Regions from separate parts of the Homo sapiens genome. Here region 1 is linked to region 2. The links are contacts of gene promoters, found by promoter capture Hi-C in human tissues and cell types (Jung and others, 2019). All regions are on one chromosome and are shown on one strand. Each heading gives the region's core, a stretch centred on a gene start or on the middle of the fragment in contact. The rest is flanking DNA. Distances are from core to core; before and after follow the strand shown. Region 1 overlaps HADHA (hydroxyacyl-CoA dehydrogenase trifunctional multienzyme complex subunit alpha). Region 2 holds the start of SLC35F6 (solute carrier family 35 member F6).

The links. Contacts are between HindIII fragments. The study calls those that stand out against the background at their distance.
Region 1: a contact is called between a fragment that was not itself captured here and the fragment with the promoter of SLC35F6 in region 2, in 1 of the 25 tissues and cell types used here (mesenchymal stem cells).

What each region holds. Positions count from the first base shown.
Region 1 is chr2:26,232,378-26,237,546 of GRCh38, forward strand. HADHA (hydroxyacyl-CoA dehydrogenase trifunctional multienzyme complex subunit alpha) reads right to left here. Exons shown (of 20, transcript NM_000182.5): 4 at 4,478-4,611; 5 at 1,840-1,978. Among named protein-coding and RNA genes, the nearest start is that of HADHA, 9.7 kb to the right of the region's middle. The HindIII fragment of the contact is 5,257 bases long and covers 557-5,169 here.
Region 2 is chr2:26,762,589-26,768,265 of GRCh38, forward strand. SLC35F6 (solute carrier family 35 member F6) reads left to right here and starts at 1,696. Exons shown (of 6, transcript NM_017877.4): 1 at 1,696-1,838. The coding sequence starts at 1,762. RefSeq lists an enhancer at 1,353-1,552 and a silencer at 1,563-1,872. The HindIII fragment of the contact is 8,469 bases long and covers 1-2,880 here.

The sequences.
Region 1 (5,169 bases), core at 1,935-4,434, 530 kb before region 2:
TGCTCACAGAATAAACTGAAATTCCTTAGGCTGGCATTTAATAATTTCTAGAATTTACCTTTTTAGCCTTTTTTTCATACTTTTCCTCTAATTTACTAACCTCTTTTTGGGCCGTAGATCTCCTAAAAAATCTACTGAAAGCTAGAGAAGCTCTCAAGAGAAAAATGCACACACAATTTTATATGGACCCCAGGTTAAAAAGCCCCGGACTCTCCAATCAAGCACGTCTACTTACAGTGTCCTAGTTGGCTTTGCTTTTGCCTTTGCTCACACCATACCATATGCGGAATTGTTTTTCCCTCCATATTCTGGTTAATCAAATTCTGCTTATAGTTTAGGACCAGGCACAGGTTTTCTTAATTAATATAGTCATGTGTCACATAATGAGGGGGATATGTTCTGAGAAATGTACCATTAGGAAATTTTGTTGTTGTGTGAACATCGCAGAGTGTACTTACACAAACCCAGATGGCAGAGCCTGCTACACATCTAGGCTATATGGGATAGCCTATTGCTCCTAGTCCAGCAGTCCCCAACCTTTTTGACGCCAGGGACAGGTTTTGTGAAAGGCAATTTTTCCAAGAACTGGGGGTGGGGTGGGAGGGAGTGGTTTCAGGATGAAACTGTTCCACTTCAAATCATCAGGCAATAGAGGCCAATGGAGTGCGCAACCTGGATCCCTCTCATGTGCAGTTCACAACAGGGTTCCAGCTCTTATGAGAATCTAATGCCACTGTTGATATGACAGGAGGCGGAACTCAGGTGGTAATGTTCACTCGCCCACTGCTCACCTCCTGCTGTGGGGCCCAGTTCCTAACAGGCTATGGCCTGGGAACTGGGGACCCCTGTCCTAAGGGGCTACAAACCTGGACTGCATGTGACTATTGAATACTGTAGGCAACTGTGGCACAGTGATAAGCATTTCTGTATCTAAACACAGAAAAGGTATAGAAAAATGTAGTGTTACAGTCTTATAGAACCACTGCTGTATGTGCAATTGGTCATTGAAACGTTATGTGGTAAATGACTGCATATGTGAAAGTGTCTGGCACAGAGTTCAGCATGTGAAAAGTGCTCAATGAATGTTTCCTTTTCCCCTTCTTTTCTTTCCTACATGTTCGGGTCTAGTAAGCATCTCTTCTCTCAAATCTTCTATTATTTACCGTCTTTACTACTGACAAAGCACTTATATTATGCTTTATGTGTCTCAACCAGACTTAAGTAGCTTAAGAGCCTAGATCACACTTCTGAATCTTTGCCCTGCAAACTTGAACAAGATTTTTACAGCTGAAAAGGACATTAGAGATGCAGTTCAAATGAAAACATCACACCTTCATTTACTTGCTTTGTGCCACTTGCTCTGTGTCATGTGGATTAAGGATTAACACCTATCCAGAAGTTTGATAACTAAAAACAAAGCTATTTAGGCACAGTGGCTCACACCTGTAATCCCAGCACTTTGGGAGGCCGAGGCGGGAGGATCACCTGAGGTCAGGAGTTTGAGACCAGCCTGGCCAACATGGTGAAACCCCATCTCTACTAAAAATACAAAAATTAGCTGGGCATGGTGATGCACACCTGTAATCCCAGCTACTGGGGAGGCTGAAGCAGGAGAATTGTTTGAAGCCAGGAGGCAGAGGTTGCAGTGAGCCAAGATCGTGCCATTGCTCTCCAGCCTGGGAGACAAGAGCAAAATTCCGTCTCAAAGCAAAAAACAAAAAACAAAGCGGATTCTCCTCCAGAAACTTTTTCCAGGCAAAGCAGTAGCCTAAGGGTTTACAGCTGATGAATGCCACCAATGAGTTGGACAGTGTCTCAATAACTTTAGAATATCTATACCTCAAGTCCTCCTCCCAGGCAGGATCCATTGATGGCAGCCACAATAGGCTTTGTGGACTTTTCAAGTTTCTCAACTATTCTCTGTGCTTCTTGTGATAGCTGTGTTACTTCTTGAAGGGTCTTGCAAGCGGCTAACATGCTGCATTATCCATAAAAGTAGAGAACAGAGAAAAAGATAAAACTATAATTTATTTGGTTCAATACTTATTCACTATACACTTATCCTATCATGCATCAATATTTGATGACAAATCTTCAAATAGAAGGTTAAGAATGATTTTGCTTCAAATAGCACAATAGCAGCAACATCATTTCTCCATAAAGAGTGTTAAACTTCTGGATCCATGAGACCATCCCGGCTAACACGGTGAAACCCCGTCTCTACTAAAAATACAAAAAATTAGCTGGGCATAGTGGCGGGCGCCTGTAGTCCCAGCTACTTGGGAGGCTGAGGCAGGAGAACAGTGTGAAACCGGGAGGTGGAGCTTGCAGTGAGCCGAGATCGCGCCACTGCACTCCAGCCTGGGCGACAGAGTGAGACTCTGTCTCAAAAAAAAAAAAAAAAATTCTGGATCCAGAAAACATAAATGTGTTGCATAATTTATTTTTACTTCTGTAATAAATCATTAAATTACAAAGCTTGGTACAAGGGAAAATCATCTTTGGTAAATTACTTCACTATCAGATTAAACATTTCACTATCAGGTAGTTAACAGCAATAAAAATGACGCAAAAGAAAAGCTTCCAGGTTGTTTAGAGAAATCTAAAACATTTTAACAGATCCCACTAATGAATAAAAATGACCAGGTAGGCCAGGCATGGTGGCTCATGCCTGTAATCCCAGCACTTTGAGAGGCCAAGGCAGGTGGATCACCTGAGGTCAGGAGTTCGAGACCAGGCTGGTCAACATGGTGAAACCGCGTCTCTACTAAAAATACAAAAATTAGCTGGGCGTGGTGCTGCATTCCTGTAGTCCTGGCTACTCGGGAGGCTGAGGCGAGAGAATCACTGGAACCTGGGAGGTGGAGGTTGCAGTGGGCCGAGATCGCACCACTGTACTCCAGCCTGGACAGCAGAGGGAGACTCCGTCTCAAAAATAAATAAGTAAATAAAAATGATCAGGTGCAATGATGTTCCACTCAATGTCCTTTAATTTCAGTTTGTTTCATTTGCTATTTTGTGAACACACTTAGGATATGGATTTTGTACTTTTGACCAAGGATAACTAGTATATTCTGTAATTTTATACACTGAGAGTTGCTCAGCTGGCCTCATAGAAGCTACATGTATTTTCCTCTGGATATAGGTAGCTACTGCCAGGTACATCAGTGTCTTGTTAGACTTTATAAATGTTCTGTTTAATGTTAATTTTTTAGAAGACCCAAAATTATCTTATCAAGTGGTTTTTCTTCTAGCTGAATTATTTGTGCCTAACAAGAGACTGATTACTACACATAAATAATTACACTTTCAGTACAAATTACTAAACCTACAATGCTGGCTATCATTGTCTAAAATACAAAGAACATAACAAATACCCATATTTTAATGGAATTGACAACTTAACATTTTAACCTATTAAACTGACACTAAAATATCATTTCCCCTCCTTATGTATGTGTAAACAATTGTAAATAAGTTAATGTAGGCATGCATTCCACCATTTAGCAGAGGAAAAGAAAATACTAGCTGCATCTGTAAAGCTGCCTTTAACAATCAAGTCCTACCACCCACTTCATTTCCCCAAAGCAGCCATCTTCATGTTTGTAGTGTCTCCTTCCAGACCAACTACGATTGTGTCCATAAATAGTATCAAGAATTATTCCATGTTTGGTTTTAAAACATTTATAGAAACTATATACTGTATGAAACATTCTGCAATTTGCTTTTCTTTTAACTTAACCTTATGTTTTTGAGTTCTAACATCATATTGTGGATCTAGTTAATTCCTTTTACCTGTTTTGTAGTATTCTATTGTGTGAATAGTCCACATTTTACTTACCCATTTTCCTACTGACTGACATTTGGTTTTAAATTCTTCATTATTTCACACTACACAGGACCAAACATCCTTGTACACTGGTTCTTATAAACAAGGGGTGAGATTTCTCTAGATCACATGATGTGTGTGTGTGTGTGTGTGTATATATATATATATATACTCTGTGTGTGTGTGTGTGTGTGTGTGTGTGTGTGTGTGTGTGTATATACTTTTTTTTTTTAAGACAGTCTCACTCTGTCACCCAGGCTGGAGTGCAGTGGTGTGATCTCGGCTCACTGCAACCTCTGCCTCCCAGGTTCAAGGGATTTTCGTGCCACAGCCTCCTGAGTAGCTGAGATTACAAGCGTGTGCCACCATGCCTAATTTTTGTATTTTTAGTGGAGACAGGGTTTCACCATGTTGGCCAGGCTGGTCTTGAGCTCTTGGCCTCATGTGATCCACCTGCCTCGGCCTCCCAAAGTGCTGGGATTACAGGCAAGAACCACCACACCCAGCCTGATACGTACATTTTCAATTTTACAGGCCTGTGTCACTGTGCCCAGCACTTCTACTTTCTTTTAAAAGGAGAAATTATTAGGCCTAAGAAACACACTATTAACCAAGATAAAAGGTGACTTCAAGTTTCCTAAAACTTACTTGATATCAGCACCTGCAATAAAGCAGCCTGGCTTTGATGAGATAAGGACGGCACTTCTGATTTGATCACTAGCCCAGATTTCATTCATAACTTCTGAGAACTCTGAATGTAGCTCTTTACTCAGTGTATTTACCTGCCAAAGGGAAATATATACAGGTAAGGGTTTAAATTTGAAGCACTGGATGTACGTACCACCATCAAATGCTATTTTGATTATAAGAAATATACTTATCCGGCAGAAATATACTGTTAGAAGAGAGTAAGAAATATCATTCTCCCAGCAAGTCAGTAGCTTTCTATTCAGGCAGCTTTGGCCCACTACAAGCACCCCTTCCTTTAAAAATAGGTCTTCTCAAAGGAGAAACTCAGGGTCATCCTCAGAGTTTGAATCATATGTAGGCTATAAACAAATAGGTCTACAAACATTTATTGGCATGGAAAAAATCTGCATAATGTTAAGAAAAAAATGAAATACAAATAAGACATATAGGCCAGGCATGGTGGCTCATCCCTGTAATCCCTGCACTTTGGGAGGCCAAGGTGGGCGGATCACTTGAGTTCAGGAGTTCGAGACCAGCCTGGGCAACATAATGGAACCTTGCCTCTACAGAAAATACAAAAATTAGCCGGGCCTGACAGCACACGCCTATAGTCCCAGCTACTCAGGAGGCTTAGGTGGGAGGATCACCTG
Region 2 (5,677 bases), core at 446-2,945:
AGATTTTACCCCAAAACATTTTTCTTTGCCATATCTTGAAATGGCCCTGCAAATCTGTCTTTTGTGGGGGAAAATTTGCATCTGTAAAGAATCTCTATTACCGGCCGGGCGTGGCGGATCACGCCTGTAATCCCAGCACTTTGGGAGGCCGAGGCAGGTGGATCAGGAGTTCAAGACCAGCCTGGCCAACATGGTGAGACCCCCCCCATCTCTACTAGAAATACAAAATTTAGCCAGGCGTGGTGGCAGGCACCTGTAGTCCCAGCTACTTGGGAGGCTGAGGCAGAGAACTGATTGAATCCGGGAGGTGGAGGTTGCAGTGAGCCGAGATCGCACCACTGCACTCCAGCCTGGGCGACAGAGCAAGACTCCGTCTCAAAAAAAAACAAAAATCTCTATTAACATAGATAGATATTTTTCCCGTTTCCTGCCCCACCCTCTCCCCTCCTCCCGGCTTTGAGTTGTCCTACCTTTCTGGACCAAACCAATGTATTTCTTAAATGTATTTGATTGATGTCTCGTGTCTTTCTAAAATGCTGCGCCCCGACCACTTTGGGCACATGTTCTCAGGACCTCCTGAGGGCTGTGTCACGGGCCATGGTCACAAATATTTGGCTCAGAATAAATCCCTTCAAATATTTTAGAGTGTGACTCTTCGTCAACACCCTCTTCAAACAAACCTAGGGATGGTCTTTCTGCCTGGATGCCTCAGCTGCGACCAGAAAGTCCACAAAGGAGCAGTGAAGCAGGGCTTGGTGCAGAGGCCATGCGGAAGGCACGGATTTTTGGAGACTGGAGAACCCAAGCGCAAATCCCTACCCCACTGCTCACCAGCAGGTTCTTAAGCAAATCACTCTGCTTCGCTGAATTTACTGTCCTCAGCTATAAAATGGTGTCCTCGGCAACTGGAGCTAGATGCCTTCGCCACTTTGCTGAAAGATATGAACTGTGCCCAAGGTGGGCGGTATCAGATAGGAGCCCCGAAGTGGAAACGTCCAGCGTGGGAATCTCCTCTCTACAGGGTCCCCAAGGAACTCCCGGCAGGCCCACTTCAGGGCTCCTTTCTGACACCGCCCAGCTCAACCTCTCAAAACGATTCACAAAATGCTGTAATAGCCACGATGCACCCTCACTGCACTGTCCCATCCGCCCCTTTTACAAATAGGAAGACCCAAAGATAAAAATAAGAAACCAAGGCCAGGCGCGGTGGTTCACGCCTGTAATCCCAATACTTTGGGATGCGGAGGAGGGCGGATCACCTGAGGTCGGGAGTTCGAGACCAGCCTGGCCAACATGGTGAAGCCCTGTCTCTACTAAAAATACAAAAAATTAGCCGGGCGTGGTGAAGGGCGCCTGTAATCCGAGCTACTCGGGAGGCTGAAGCAGGAGAATCGCTTGAACCCAGGAGGCGGATATTGCAGTGAGCCGAGATCATGCCATTGCACTCCAGCCTGGGCGACAGAGTGAGACTCCTTCTCAAAAAAATAGAAAAAAGAAACCCAAAAAGGCGGGGGAGAGTGAGGAAGAAAAGAAAAAAAAAACTGGAAGGCCTGGGCCGTGATTTGCCAGGGCCACGGCGTGGCCACCAAAGCGCTCCAGGACGACTCGGCAGAGCGCGGGCACCGTGGCTCAGGCGCGCTCCCCGGGGGCGGGGCGAGCAGGAGGGGTCACGTGACGCCCGGCCCGGAAGCGCTCGCGCAGGAGACCCCGGGTGACGGGGCCCGGCGCCGCTAACTGGAGCGAACCCCAGCGTCCGCCGACATGGCCTGGACCAAGTACCAGCTGTTCCTGGCCGGGCTCATGCTTGTTACCGGCTCCATCAACACGCTCTCGGCAAAGTGAGTCTGGGCCCTGCCGGGCGTGCGGGCCCTGGCGACCCCGGCGCTCGTTCTACGCCTTCCCCCTTCTTGGCCCTGCCCTCCTGGCTTCCCCTGCTTTCCCACTTGCTCCGGTCAGTTCGCGCGCGTTATGACCACCCAAGGGATGCGAGGCCCGGGGAAATGCGGAGCGGGGCTGCGCCCCGGACGGGGGGATCCGAGCCCCGGCTTTGATTTGCTGTACAGCCTCCGCTCCTGTTTCCACGTCTTTTAACAGGAGGGTTGGCCGATTCCTTTCCACGGCCCTTCCAGTGCTGGCGTCCAAGCCTGAGCACCTCCCTCCACGAGCTGGGAGAGACCCCTGGACTTGTGCACATGAGCCGCAGTAGTGGCTGTGCAGGCCGAGTGACCCAGTGAGCGTGGAGGCCTCAAGCGGCAGACAGGGAGGTGCCCCACGGCCCCTCAAGGATGAGGGGTTAGAGCTGTGCTTTGAAGCTTAGGTGGGATTTCGGAATGTGTCTGAGACTGTAAGTCAAGGAAAGTCTACGGAAAGGCCAGATCAAAGTCGATTGTAACCAGCATCAAATGCCCAGGTTAGATTTTCTCTCATAATCAGAAAAGTGCTTTTGAGCTGGGGAATGACATGTTGAAAGTGATATGATTGACTCAATGACATGAGGAGTGGTTTGGTGCAGGAAAAACCACTCCAAGGCTGCTGCATAGCAGATGAGGGGAACTAGGAGGTGGCAGTGAGAAGAGAAAGGAAGGGACAACTGGTGGCAGAGACCAGGTGTGAATGGCCACAGGCCTGACCCACATGAGCAAGAAACAAGGATCACTCCAGGGTTTCTGCCTGGGAGAAGAAAAGTGCCATTAACTCAGACAGAGAGGGCAAGTGGCCAGTTCAGCTCTGATGTATGGGGGTGAGAGGGGGGACAGTTCCCAGGAGGTTAGGGACTAAGGACCCAGGCAGTCATGAGACTGAGGGACAGGGCCTAGCCTCCCCTCTGTTGTGGGCAGGATGGCATTTCTTTGTCTCTCTCTGTCTCCATCTCAGGGCAGGGCCTTCCTGCCCCTCCTTTTCTTGTTGCCCAGGCTGGAGTGCAATGGCACGATCCCATGTATAAGGTACCTACGGTGTGTAAGGGAAGGGGACAGAAGTGACCAAGAGGCGATCTCTGCCTTTGAGATGCTTGGAATCTGAGGTGGAGGAGACAGACGTGTACGCACACGACAGTCACAGTGTTCTCCCTTCCCCAAACGGTGGGCACAGTCAGTGGAGTCCTGGGTGGGCCCCACCTGTTCCTCTGGTTCACCTCTGGCCAACTGTGCCTTGTGGAGAACTACTAGCTTCCCAGGCCCTGCATCCTCCTGAGGATCACTCCTCATGCTGAATCCTTAGCTGTTCAGAGGCCCCAGCCTGAGGGCTCCCATCTCAGGATCTGAACACAGCAAAGCAAGTCTTCTGTTCTGTCATGCCAGCCAGGGCCTCTGTCAAGTGCTTAGAGAGCGGTTGTAAGTCCACCAGGGCTGCTGCCCACAAGGAGAATCCAGATTGCCAGTTACTGCTGGGGTAAACTGTGCTGATTCACCTCCTTCCTTAGAAAACTCCAAACCAGTCAGGTAGGAAGCTTAGAGATCCTCAATCCCAGAAGGCGTCGCCTTTAAAGGCTGCCTGAGAGTCAGGAAAGAGGCTCCCAGGTGACAGACCCAACTTTTGGTCCTGTCCCCTGCCTGACAGCTGGTGTGGGGCCTCTCAGGATCCTCCCACCCCAAGATGGGCCCCCAAATTGGACCCTAAACAGTGTTCTAAGGTCAAACCACAAGAAGGGATACTCTTAGGGAGAAAGAACATGTGGGAGCAGCTGCATGCACCCCGATGTGAAGTATGGATTTGAAATCACATTTCTGGCCCGGCGCGGTGGCTTACGCCTGTCATCCCAGCACTTTGGGAGGCAGAAGCGGCTGGATCACTTGAGGTCAGGAGTTTGAAACCAGCCTGACCAATATGGTGAAACTGCATCTCTACTAAAAATACAAAAATTAGCTGGGCGTGGTAGTGCGCACCTGTAGTCCCAGCTACTTGGGAGGCTGAGACAGGAGAATTGCTTGAACCCGGGAGGCGGAGGTTGCAATGAGCCAAGATTGCACCACTGCCCTCCAACCTGGGTGACAGAGTGAGACTCGGTCTCAAAAAAAAAAATAAAAGGAAATCACATTTTTGACCCACGATTTCCAGCAGGCACAGACAGACAAGCATGTGCTGACAACTAGCAGAAGCATCTCATGCACAAAGAGCACCTCGCATGCCCCAGGCCCTGCTCTGCCCTTTCATGTGTGAACTCAGGGAATTCTCATAACCACCCTATCAGGCAAAGACAGGGGCTGATATTCCTGTATAAGGAAACTGAGGTAGGAAATGATTAAATTCCTTGCCCAAGTTCAACTTAGCTACTAAGTGGCAGAGTTTATAGTTGAGCCAGCATGGTCTGGCTCTAGCATCCATGCTCTTAACCACCACTGGAGGGTGTGGCTGGGGACTTCTCCAGTCATTTTGGGGTCATTTAGAGTTGTTAAAAGCATAGAAATCATCCAGTCTAATCCCCACAATTTACAAAGGAGGCCTCAGGAGAAGTTTCTTTCTGTGATTCAACTGTTTGGTGTCTGAATGAAGGCTGGAACCCAGGCCTCAGGACTTTAAGTCCTGTTCTTTTATGACTGTGATACCCCAGAGTCCCTCCTTCCTGGGAGTTTCCTCTCACAGCTCCCCAGGCCAGGACAGAGAAGCCTGTGCTTGTGGAAGTTGTAAACCTGTAAGTGGCATCTGCGCTCCCAGCCTTTGATGTGCCTCTCTCCAGGACTGGGCTGCCAGCCTCTCAGCCAGCCCAGAGACACTGCTGACAGGGTCCTCCCGCTGGAGTCCAGGCCACTCAAGGTTCAGACTGACAGCCTGTGGTTGTCTCTGGCAGTTTCTTGGCCTGTGACAAGAGTGATGTTTCCCTTCCCAGGTTCTTGGGAGGATGAAAGGCAGTGGATGAGGAAGCACATCTGAGCACGTGCTGCCTGCTGTGCTGGGGCGGCAGGTCAGCTTTCCTCTCTGCGGCCCCATCCCTGGGTCCTGGCAGGGGGCCCCTCCCTGTGAAGTGGCTTCTTCTTTCCCTGGCTGTTTTCTCAAAACCTCCTCACTAGCACCTTCTGTCGATCATCTTCTTTAGGCCAAGCCATTTCTGTCTACGTGAGCCAGTGCCCCATCCACAGGTACTCATTTCAGAACCCCAGTCTCCTGAATCCAACTGAGGTTCTACATATGAAGAGCCGGGGTCAGCTGGGCACTGTGGCTCCAGCTTGTAATCCCAGACTGGAGGCTGAGGTGGGATGATCATTTGAGCCCAGGAGTTCAAGATCAGCCTGGACAACATAGGGAGACCTCGTTCTCTACAAATAATAATAATAAATAATTAATTAATAGAGCCAGGGTCAAGTAGATGCTCACTAAGTAAGGCTCAGCTCCCCTCCTAAGTTCTGCAGGCTGTAGGGCCCTCCCAGCCAGGCAGGGATATGAGCCTGACTTCCTTTCATGCCCAGGCCAGGGACCCTGCCAAGAAGGTGGCAGGAAGCCTGGAAACCACTAGGCCTCTACTAGAGAAGAGGTGTTTGCTCTTCTTCTGTGTCCTTTCTGTGCCAGCTCCAATGTTTGCCCTTGGCAGCTGCCCCACCACCCTTGGGTTCCATGAACTGGCATGGGATAATTGCTTCAAAGGGGTTGTTGGGCCAGCTTGTGGAAGCCTTAACTCAGGAGGACAGTGTAGTAGAGTGGGAAGTTCATGAGGCTTGGGACCTGAGGAATAGATGAGCCACTG